Linked DNA regions of Homo sapiens: region 1 is linked to region 2. The links are contacts of gene promoters, found by promoter capture Hi-C in blood cells and fetal thymus (Javierre and others, 2016). All regions are on one chromosome and are shown on one strand. Each heading gives the region's core, a stretch centred on a gene start or on the middle of the fragment in contact. The rest is flanking DNA. Distances are from core to core; before and after follow the strand shown.

Region 1 (5,133 bases), core at 35-2,534, 260 kb before region 2:
CAAATGAAGGACCTGGATAGATCTTGTAGGAAAAAAAATCCTATGAGGACAAGGCCAAGGAACGGGCCTATATGCACTTCACTTGAATTATGCCTCCTGGCTCTAGGTGACAAGAGCCATCTTTTTCACCACTGGAGAGCTCAGCCTCCTACCACCTTGCCCCGATCCTGACCTGGTTCAGATTCCTCGCTAACATACTTCTCTCACCTTGTAGCACTGTTGCACATTGAACAGGAGGGAAAAGCTCTTTTGTTCATTTTCCTTAGAATGGAACCAAAATGATACTCCAGTAGCTCCATCTAAAAGCTCAAGTGGCAGCTAACAGCACGGACACCAGGGGCATCCCTTGCCAGCTTCCAATGCCATGGTGAGAGACACTCATCATGGTTTAAAAAAAGACCAGAGAGCATTTTCACAAGCAATTCCTAAGAGACTTAAATTTCCTACACATAGGCAGAATAAAAACCAAAAAGGAAAAAAAAAAAACTTCCCCCAAACAAAAGTGAGGGCTTTCAAGGAGACTTGCTGAGTGGGCAAACATTTTGGAAAGATGGAATTTTAAACACAAACACAAAAGGGCAAAGATTTGCAGCAGAAGAGCTATGCACACAGCCGGGAGGACTTTAATTAGGGAAAGCTTTGCAAAGCCCAGGGAGCATCAGCATCGGCAAATCTCCCCTTGGTCTCCGGAATGGAAAGAATGTGGAAACCAATGGGTGATCAAGGAGTTCGAATTTTGCCTGACACTCTTGCTGGGAATGAAGCATGCAGTCCTGTCTTTTGCCACCTTTTCAGCAGCCTCAGGTGAGCCTTTTAAAAAGGTGAAAAACGAAGGACCACCTAGCCTGGGAGAAGCCAGGGTGGATCCTCTCCTTCCTAGGGTGCTTCCTGCAGATGGCACACAGCCAAAGCTCTTCTGGTGTTTTAAGGCAGAAACAGAATTCAGGGGAGGACTAAACAACCCCTTTAGAGCTACGTGCTGTGTTTTTTGTTTGCATTTTTCCAAGTCCAGGCATTTTTCCAGGTATTTCCAATGAGACTGAAATGGCCTACACATAGGCTGACGACCTATAATAACATAAGAAAGTGATGTTGGCCCCCTGCTCCACCCAGAGGGGACATCTGCTTATTTGGCTTCCAGGTGGTGGGAGCAGTGGTTTTCCCCAAACAGCTAATACCCTTCAATTCTTTGCTTTCTGTATCATGAAGTTCACTGGAGTTTGGAGCACAGACTCTTTAAACCAGTAATTTAACTCTACTTTTGAGGATACCCTATGCCCCCAGCAGTTATGAGAAGGGTTGCCAAATCTTAACTCATAAGGGTGACAGGATCAGGAACAAAGGCCTGGACTCTCCACCCTTCTCCTCTGCCAAAATCTACGAGTTCAGGAAAATGGCAAGCCAGGAGTTTACTTTAGGTTCCCTCAAGAGCAGCAGCTGTTCCCACCAGGGCTGCGAAGGAATCAACAGGAACTGAGAGAACACCTGAATGGTCTGATTCAGAAAGTCCCAGCTCCCTGTGAGGTCAATAAAGAACTTTGTCTCAACAGAGGCAACAAGGCCACTGCCTCCTAGGAAAGGACTGATGTGGGCTTTTCTAGAGGCAGGCAGGCTCTTGGATCAACAGGCTTACAAGGGCACATTTCTCAGTTACGATCTTAAAATTGCAGGGAACCTGCTGATCTCTGTCCCTTACCCATCTAGAAAGTCTGAGTGGGAGCTAACAGCTGATCCTCAGCAAAACCAGAGTGTGCGCCCATCACCTGCTTTCTGGTAAGGGACCCATGTGGCCTGAATCAAAACTCAAAGCTCACTAGACACCAATTCACACGCTCTATCTAATCAGGCAGAAACCCAGCTGCTCCTGCTCAGTCCCTGCCCAGCTAGTACCTTCCCACCACCCACCAGCTGTATCTCAGGCTCTGCCCACTCTAAGCTTTCCCTGGGATTTGCCTGCCAAGGGTGGGCCACGGTGTCCTCTGTGGTGCTCTGCAGTGCCCATGTTCCTCACATCAGAAGCCTTGCATTCTGGCTGGGAGCGGTGGCTCACCTCTGTAATCCCAGCACTTTGGAAGGCCGAGGCGGGTAGATCACCTGAGGTCAGGAGTTCGAGACCAGCATGGCCAACATGGTGAAACTCCATCTCTACTAAAAATACAAAAAATTAGCTGGGGGTGGTGGCAGGCACCTGTAATCCCAGCTACTTGGGAGGCTGAGGCAGGAGAATTGCTTGAACCAGGGAGGCAGAGGTTGCAGTGAGCCAAGATTGTGCCATCACACTCCAGCCTGGGCAACAAGAACAAAACTCCATCTCTAAAACAAAACAAAAAAAAAGAAGCCTTGCATTCTATCCATCCTGGGTTATCTGGCTCCCACCGTGGCTATGAGCTCTTTAAAGACACAACTATTCTGTTGTCACTCTGACCCTGGTGCTTCAGCTTAGGCAGGGCCTTGCATTCATGGGGGCTCAAGTAGGCATGCACTCACTGAATGTCCGCTTCAGGCTTGACAGTGGGGATACAAAGGTGAACAAAAGAAAAGATCCCTGCCCTCCAAGAGCCAAAGCTCCTAGGATGGAGCAAGTCCAAGAGACAGGAGAAGCAAGGGGCATGCTGGGGGGCAGGGTGAGGGAAGTGAGGCTCCAGCGGAGATGGGAAGATGAGCAGTTAGAGGGAGCAGAGTTGGTGTGGACATGTGTCCCAGTCAAGGAAACGGCATGTACAAAGATGCAACAAGACAGGGCACAGGCCTGGGAGTGTGCAAGACAAGGAGACAGGAGGAAGGGGCAGGGCCAGATCAAGAGCTCTTCCACCTAGATGTGTTCTCCGGGCTTGATCCCGACAATGTGGAGTCATTAAGGGACATTATCCGAAGTGCATTTTGGCAAGACTACTCTGTATGCAGAGCAGGCAGGGGATGACAGGCAGGAAGGCCTGTCTACAGGCTATTATAACACTCCAGTAATGCAGGGAGGAGCAGTAGCAATAAACATTCATTGAACTGCTCTAAAATGAGGATTGGGACATACCTTCACCCAACAGGCTGGATAAGGTGGATGGCACTCTGTAAAAAAGTGACCCCGCTTTGGGCAGGTGGAACTACATCTCCACTGGCCTTCAGCAGCCTGAGCTGCACCCAGTGCCCCTTCTGCCTGCCTCCCTCCTGGACTCCAGCCGCAGTTCCTCCCTGTCACATGCCCTACTTAACGCCTGCAGCATCAAGACTCAAGAGGTTGAAGTACAAGAGGTAACAGTAGTAGGCCGGGCACGGTGGCATCACTTGAGGTCGGGAGTTTGAGACTAGCCTGGCCAACATGGTGAAATCTCGTCTCTACTAAATATACAAAAATTAGCTGGCTATAGTGGTACACACCTGTAGTCCCAGCTACTCGGGAGGCTGAAGCAGGAGAATCGCTTGAATTGGGCAGGCAGAAGTTGCAGTGAGCCAAGATCGTACAACTGCACTCCAGCCTGGGAGACAGACTGAGACTCCATCTCAAAAAAAAAAAAAAAAAAAAAAAAAATATGGCTGGGCGCAGTGGCTCATGCCTGTAATCTCAGCACTTTGGGAGGCCGAGGCAGGCAGATCACTTGAGGTCAGGAGTTTGAAACCAGCCTGGCCAAATTGGTAAAACCGCATCTCTACTAAAAATACAAAACTTAGCCAGGCACGGTGGTACAGGCCAGTAGTTCCAGCTATTCCAGACGCTGAGGCTGGAGAATCACTTGAACTCGGGAGGTGGAGGCTGCAGTGAGACGAGATCACGCCACTGTACTCCAGCCTGGGTGACAGAGCAAAACTCCATGTTAAAAAAAAAAAAAAAAAAAAAGAGGTAATGGGAAAAATGCTCGCTTGTCATTGCAAGATCTGAGCTCACCTCACAGTCCCTCTCCCACCTGGAAGAAGGCAGGACATTTCAGAGCCCGATCAAGCAGCATTCACCCACCTATCTGGCCAAACAGGGAAACGCAGGCTGCTTTTGACAAGGGGCACGCACCCTCCTCCTTAAAAGGACAGCTCAGCAATCATGGGAAAGCAGTGGATTCCAGCCGCTCCTGTCAGGGATTCCACCACCTTCTTTGGATGATTTGCACCAAGTATTTTCCCTACATGACTTCCTTTAATATTCACAATTGTCCTCTTTTAGAGTGAGGCAAATCCAGAATTCTCTCCATTACACAGATGAGGAAACTGAGGCCTGGAGTCTGGTAGCTTACCGAGGGTCACCTAGATATTCAGGATGCATGCTCCCAGCCCCAGCTAACTCATGACTCCGTGACCTTAAAGACTCTGTCCATATACTGCCACCTGCCGGGACCACCAGCCCTTGAGTCCCAGGGGCTGAGGTCTCCTGAGTCATAGCTCAGCTCCAAGAGGCATCCGTCCCTTCTCATCTCTGGGTCTCAGATCACACAGCCTAGAATGTCTAATGTGGACTCCCCTCAGAATTTGGGGATAGCAGGGTTTTTGGTTCATTATCTCATATTTATTTGTGGCCATATCGACATGTGGCCAGGCACTGTGTTAGGGTCTGGGGATAGAGGTGAGCATCATGGCATCCCGCAGGTGCTCGGAAGCCAGAGGGCCCTCCAGTGCTAAGAGTACAGTTACAGCACACAGCAGTGCTTTCAGTGCGTTAGATAAAACGTGGAGATTTGGCTGCCCCTACAGGCAGCGTTTGGGACTAGGAAGGTCAATGAGACAGGAAAACAATGCGGGCGAAGAAGTATTAAGCCTCTTTAAAACACCTGATGTACATATCTCCTCTACTCCCAACTGATGTTCAACACATAGCTAGAAAGAGGCAAAAAAAAAAAAAAAAAAAAAAAATCCCCTTGTATGAAGGATAATCCTTTCAGCCTGGGGCAAATCTCCTGAAGAGTTTTGTTCTGAACTAGGAGTGTTGTTTTAGCTTCCAGTCAATAGTAATTAAGAGTCCCAATATATTCCAGAAAGAGGGAGAGGGAGATTAACGATCATTAAATCTCTTCTGCATTTGGCTCCAAATCTCTTTTCGGAGGGGCCGGCTGTCAGATGATCCCTCCAAAGCGTCCATCTGACAGCACTCCCGCCGCCACCATCTGGAACATCAATTCGAGAGCTCGCCTGAAGGTTTCAATTACATAAAAGGCA
Region 2 (5,258 bases), core at 1,676-4,175:
TCTTAAAATAAAATTTTAAATTTTAGCACAGAGCGCATTATAACAAACATCAGCGGATCCATCACCCAGAATGAACAAATGTTAAAGTTATTGCCAGGTTTTCTTTAGTTAGTTTGTTTGTTTGAGACACTGTCACCGAGGCTGAAGTTCAGTGGCTATTCACACGTGTGATCATAGCTCACTGCAGCCTTGAACACTTGGCCTCAAGCAATCCTCTCACCTCAGTCTCACAAGTAGCTGAAACTAGAGTCGTGCACCACCACGCTCAGCTAATCTTTAGGTCTTTTTTTTAAAATAAAAGATATCAAGTATTGTGGGAAAAGTGAAAGCAGAAAGACTAATATTCTATGCACTACCTACAGATTTTTACAAAGCAACATTTATCAGGCAAAATTTTTTACTCATCTCATTCACAGCTCCACTGCCTTGGTTTCATAGCAGCAGAGAATTTAAGAGGCTTTGCACAACTTCACAGAGCAAGTGGCAGACTCTGGATGATGAACCCAGGATGCTGGGCTCCAAAATCCTTCCACACAGCACCTCTCAGGGTTGCAGCTGTTCACGTCAGAAATCCCTGGGCTCAAGGAGTTAGCACAGAGCTGAATGCATTACGATTGTGCTGATGGGAACACTAAAGCCAAGAGCTAGGTTTTTTTTTTGTTTTTTTGTTTTTTTGTTTTTTTTTTTTTTAGATGGAGTTTCGCTGTTTTTGCCCAGGCTAGAGTGCAGTGGTGTGATCTCAGCTCACTGCAACCTCTGCCTTGTGGGTTCAAGTGATTCTCCTGCCTCAGCCTCCTGAGTAGCTGGGATTATGGGCGTGCATCACTACACCTGGCTAATTTTGTATTTTTAGTAGAGACGGGGTTTCATCATATTGACCAGGCTGGTCTCGAACTCCTGACCTCAGGTGATCTGCCCGCCTTGGCCTCCCAAAGTGTTGGGATTACAGGCGTGAGCCACTGTGCCCGGCCAGCTAGTGTTAACATAGTATCAAAGACACAGATTACATCAGTGTCATTTAATCCCCTCAGCTACTCTGTGAGGTGGGTGCCATATTGTTCTGCTAACTATTACAGAAGAGAAAGCTGTGACCCAAGGAGATGGAGCCACTGGCCCTGTAATCCCAGAGCTGGGATGGAGCGGGGATCCCAAGCCATGTGTTTCTGACTCTCTGCCCAGGCTTGCTGTACTACGTTCTGTTCCTTGGGGGCATGGCAGAAATCGTCACAGTGGTGCAGTGTGGTGGCAAGGAGGAAGGACAGGCCTCCTCTATCTGCTTAAAAGATGCTTCTGTGGGCAAGGCTGGGGCTCTGAGCACCAAATAGCAGCTTAGAGTTGGCGGGTGGGTGCTGCAGGCTCTGAGGTGCCTGAGGGGAGGTTTTTGACCATCTGTAATGGGCTCTCTTTGCCATGGGCATCGAGCAGATCTGGGTTTCAGGTCCACTTCACCACTTGCTGCTGGTGATCTGGGGCAAGGCCCTTGGCCTCTCTGAACCCCAGTTTAACGTCTACCTCTCAGCATTATTGTAGGGGTCGGAATAAATAACTGGAGGAGTAGGAACCGTACAACAAAGCCCCTGGGGACAGCGCAGGAGCCTTCGATTTGGAAAGTATTATTTTTCTGTTTCTGTGGAGAAAAAATGATCCCACCCCGTTCTCTTTATACTACATTTTCTTTTTCTCTTTCTCTTCTTTCTTTCTCTTTCTTTCCTTTCTCTCTTTCTTTCTTTCCTTTTTTTTTTTTTTTTTTTTTTTTTTTTTGACAGAGTCTTGCTCTGTCACCCAGGCTGGAGTGTGCAGTGGCACAATCTTGGCTCACTGGAACCTCTGCCTCCCAGGTTCAAGCAATTCTCCTGCCTCAGCCTCCCGAATAGCTGGGATTACAGGCTCCCGCCACCACGCCCAGCTAATTTTTGTATTTTTGATAGAGACGGGGTTTTACCATGTTGGTCAGGCTGGTCTCGAACTCCTGACCTCAGGTGATCTGCCCACCTCCGCCTCCCAAAGTGCTGGGATTACAGGCGTGAGCCACCTCGCTGGGCCCACTTTCTCTGTTGATTATGCTTATTGTTTATTGTCTGTTTCTTCCACTAGAATGTAAGCTCCATGGAGGTGCGGATCTTTGTTTTGGCCACTGTAGTGTCCTGATGGGTCAGAACAGTGCCTGACATCTAGTGGATGCGCCTTAAAAGATGCATTGAAGTATCTGTTCAATGAATGAATGAATAACAGTATTAACCTGCACAGCAGTGTTAGGCAGAGACTCTTCTCAGCCAGAGGGGAGACGTACAGAGGGAGGTCACACCCAGGGGAAACCACACCCCACGCCTCTGCCTGCAGCGACTCTTAACACACCTGGCCTGGGGATTCTCAAATCTGTTCACGCTCTGTTAGACTAGGAGCGCCAACAGCTCAGGGACTTCATCCTTAGTACCTGGCCCCTTTGGGGATCGGGATGGTTTCTGCGGGAAAGGCCCTGGGGAAGGTTAGCTTCTTGCTCAAACTAACGGTGAAGAATGCCCAGAATTACTAACCCATTTTACAGATATGGCAACTGAGGCCCAGAGGGGTGTCAGGCGATTTGTCCAATATTTCCCAACTCCTGGCTCCCCTGAAAGCCCGGTGACCCCGTTGTGAGTGGGCAGGCACCCATTAGAGAGCAGCCCCTGGATAAGGGCAGGTCACAGCCCCCTGCTCCCAGTTCCGCCTGCGCCGCCGCCACGTGTGGGTTGGGAGGGGCATCTGAGGGTGTGGGGGCTGCCACAGCCCGGGAGGTGACCCCTCGCAGCTGGGGCGCTCTGATCTTCGGCCCACAGGCCCGGGGTGCCGGGACCCCGCCCTCCTGCAGGGCCAGGGCTCGGCTCTCCCCGCCCACCGCGAGGCGGGGCGCACGCTCCGCGGCGCGGGGACCGCGCGCTCCAGGCTGCACCCGGCCTCTCCTCCGCGCGTGCGGGCCCCTCGCGGCGCCTCCCGGGCTCGGGAGACCCGGTCCCGCCGCCCGCCCGGCCCGCGGCCGCCTCTTCCTCTCGCAGCCCCGCGGCGCTTGCCGCAGTCGCAGGCGGCGGAGCAGCCAGAGCGCCCCAGGTACCAGTGCGGGCGGGAGACGGAGGCGACCCTGCTGCCGGGTGGGGAGGGGGCGCCGCGCGGCCGCTGCCCTCCTCTTCCCGCGGGGCCTGGCGGCCCCGGCGAACCCCCGCGCCGCACAGGCCGTGTGCGCCGGATCCCGGTGCCTCCGCGCCAGCTGAGACCTGCCTTTCCCAGGGGCGGCTTTGCTCCGGCCCCTAGGCCCCCGCCCTGGTACCCCACACGCCCACCGGCCGCGGGGAGCCTGCTCCGGCCCGAGAGCGCCCATTCACCCCCCTCACCCACCTCCCCGCGTTCCCACTTCCCCGCACTCTGACCCGGCCGGACGCCCCTCCCCTATCTTGCCGCCCGCCCCCTCCAGGGGGCTCTGCTCCCACCCCAGGGAGCCCATCCGACCTCTGCTTGACTTCCCGCCGCTTCCTTCAGGGGCCTCGGCTCATCGGGTGCCCCTCCCCAAACTTCCAACCCGTTTGCTCCAGGAGTTCCTGCCCCATCCCCGAGGGCGCCCAAATAGCCACACTGTGTCCTCCTGTAGTCGCTGCCCCCTGACCTAGCGCGACCCAGCGCCCCCGCCCATGTCCCCCCACTCACCTCCCCCGGGGGGCGTGGTGAGTCGCGGTCTGTTCTCACGGACGGTCCCCGTCCAGCCTGCGCTTCGCCGGGGCCCTCATCTGCTTTCCCGCCACCCTATCACTCCCTTGCCGTCCACCCTCGGTCCTCATGGTCCCAGAGCCGGGCCCAACCGCCAATAGCACCCCGGCCTGGGGGGCAGGGCCGCCGTCGGCCCCGGGGGGCAGCGGCTGGGTGGCGGCCGCGCTGTGCGTGGTCATCGCGCTGACGGCGGCGGCCAACTCGCTGCTGATCGCGCTCATCTGCACTCAGCCCGCGCTGCGCAACACGTCCAACTTCTTCCTGGTGTCGCTCTTCACGTCTGACCTGATGGTGGGGCTGGTGGTGATGCCGCCGGCCATGCTGAACGCGCTGTACGGGCGCTGGGTGCTGGCGCGCGGCCTCTGCCTGCTCTGGACCGCCTTCGACGTGATGTGCTGCAGCGCCTCCATCCTCAACCTCTGCCTCATCAGCCTGGACCGCTACCTGCTCATCCTCTCGCCGCTGCGCTACAAGCTGCGCATGACGCCCCTGCGTGCCCTGGCCCTAGTCCTGGGCGCCTGGAGCCTCGCCGCTCTCGCCTCCTTCCTGCCCCTGCTGCTGGGCTGGCACGAGCTGGGCCACGCACGGCCACCCGTCCCTGGCCAGTGCCGCCTGCTGGCCAGCCTGCCTTTTGTCCTTGTGGCGTCGGGCCTCACCTTCTTCCTGCCCTCGGGTGCCATATGCTTCACCTACTGCAGGATCCTGCTAGCTGCCCGCAAGCAGGCCGTGCAGGTGGCCTCCCTCACCACCGGCATGGCCAGTCAGGCCTCGGAGACGCTGCAGGTACCTGGGGTGCGCAGGGAGACCCGGGCTGTGGGATAGAGAGGAATGAGCAGCCCCTGGGGACCCCCTGGGCATCCCCACTTAGCACACATTTGCTCATGGCCCTGCGTGGCTGTTGTGAGCGCCCACCTTTCTTCTGAACTCCAGAGCCAATGCCTGACCCACCCACCACAGGATAGCTCCGTCAGGATTTGGGGGCAGGCTTCTCCCAGGTACCATGTACAACAGGGAATTTATGGTGGCCCAACTCTCCCCATCTTTGCCTCCCTGGTCTTCCCCATCATGGCAAATGGCACCATTGCGGCATCACATGCCAGGAACTTAGGAATACTTTTCTCCCTCACCCTCATGCCATTCATTAGCGAGACCTGTTGGCGCTGCTCTAAACAGGTGCCATCTCCCCTGCCACTTCCTACCGGGGAGGCTGTGTAGACTTCTCCTGGCTCCCCTGCTTCTGCCGCAGACCCAGTACTCTCCATCTTCTGCATAGAAGCTGGAGCACTTAAAAAAGAAGTGATCATGTCACTCCCCTGCTTCAGACTCTTCAGGCTTCCCACCGTGCTCCAGATAAAGAAAACCTGTCTCAGGATCTGGCCTCAGGATCCCACACTGCCATCCTCTCCAGTGTCACCTCCCCTCTCCCTCTCTCTTACTCTGCAACAGCCTTGTGGCCTTTCTCACGGTTCTAGAAGGCACTGGGCTTACTTCTGTGCCCAGGTCTTTGCACTTGCTGTTCCCTG

What was found. Contacts are between HindIII fragments. The CHiCAGO score rates a contact against its expected background, and 5 or more counts as called.
Region 1: a fragment that was not itself captured here is called in contact with the fragment with the promoter of HTR6 in region 2 in 7 of 17 cell types (naive CD4 T cells, total CD8 T cells, activated CD4 T cells and 4 more); the score reaches 8.1 in naive CD4 T cells.

Annotation. Positions count from the first base shown.
Region 1 is chr1:19,400,736-19,405,868 of GRCh38, forward strand. All of the region lies in intron 2 of CAPZB (capping actin protein of muscle Z-line subunit beta), which reads right to left. Among named protein-coding and RNA genes, the nearest start is that of CAPZB, 82 kb to the right of the region's middle. RefSeq lists enhancers at 446-1,125, 1,804-2,481. The HindIII fragment of the contact is 1,299 bases long and covers 636-1,934 here.
Region 2 is chr1:19,661,950-19,667,207 of GRCh38, forward strand. HTR6 (5-hydroxytryptamine receptor 6) reads left to right here and starts at 2,926. Exons shown (of 3, transcript NM_000871.3): 1 at 2,926-4,518. The coding sequence starts at 3,805. RefSeq lists a silencer at 2,740-2,969 and enhancers at 2,748-3,720, 3,721-4,691. The HindIII fragment of the contact is 8,359 bases long and covers 1-5,258 here.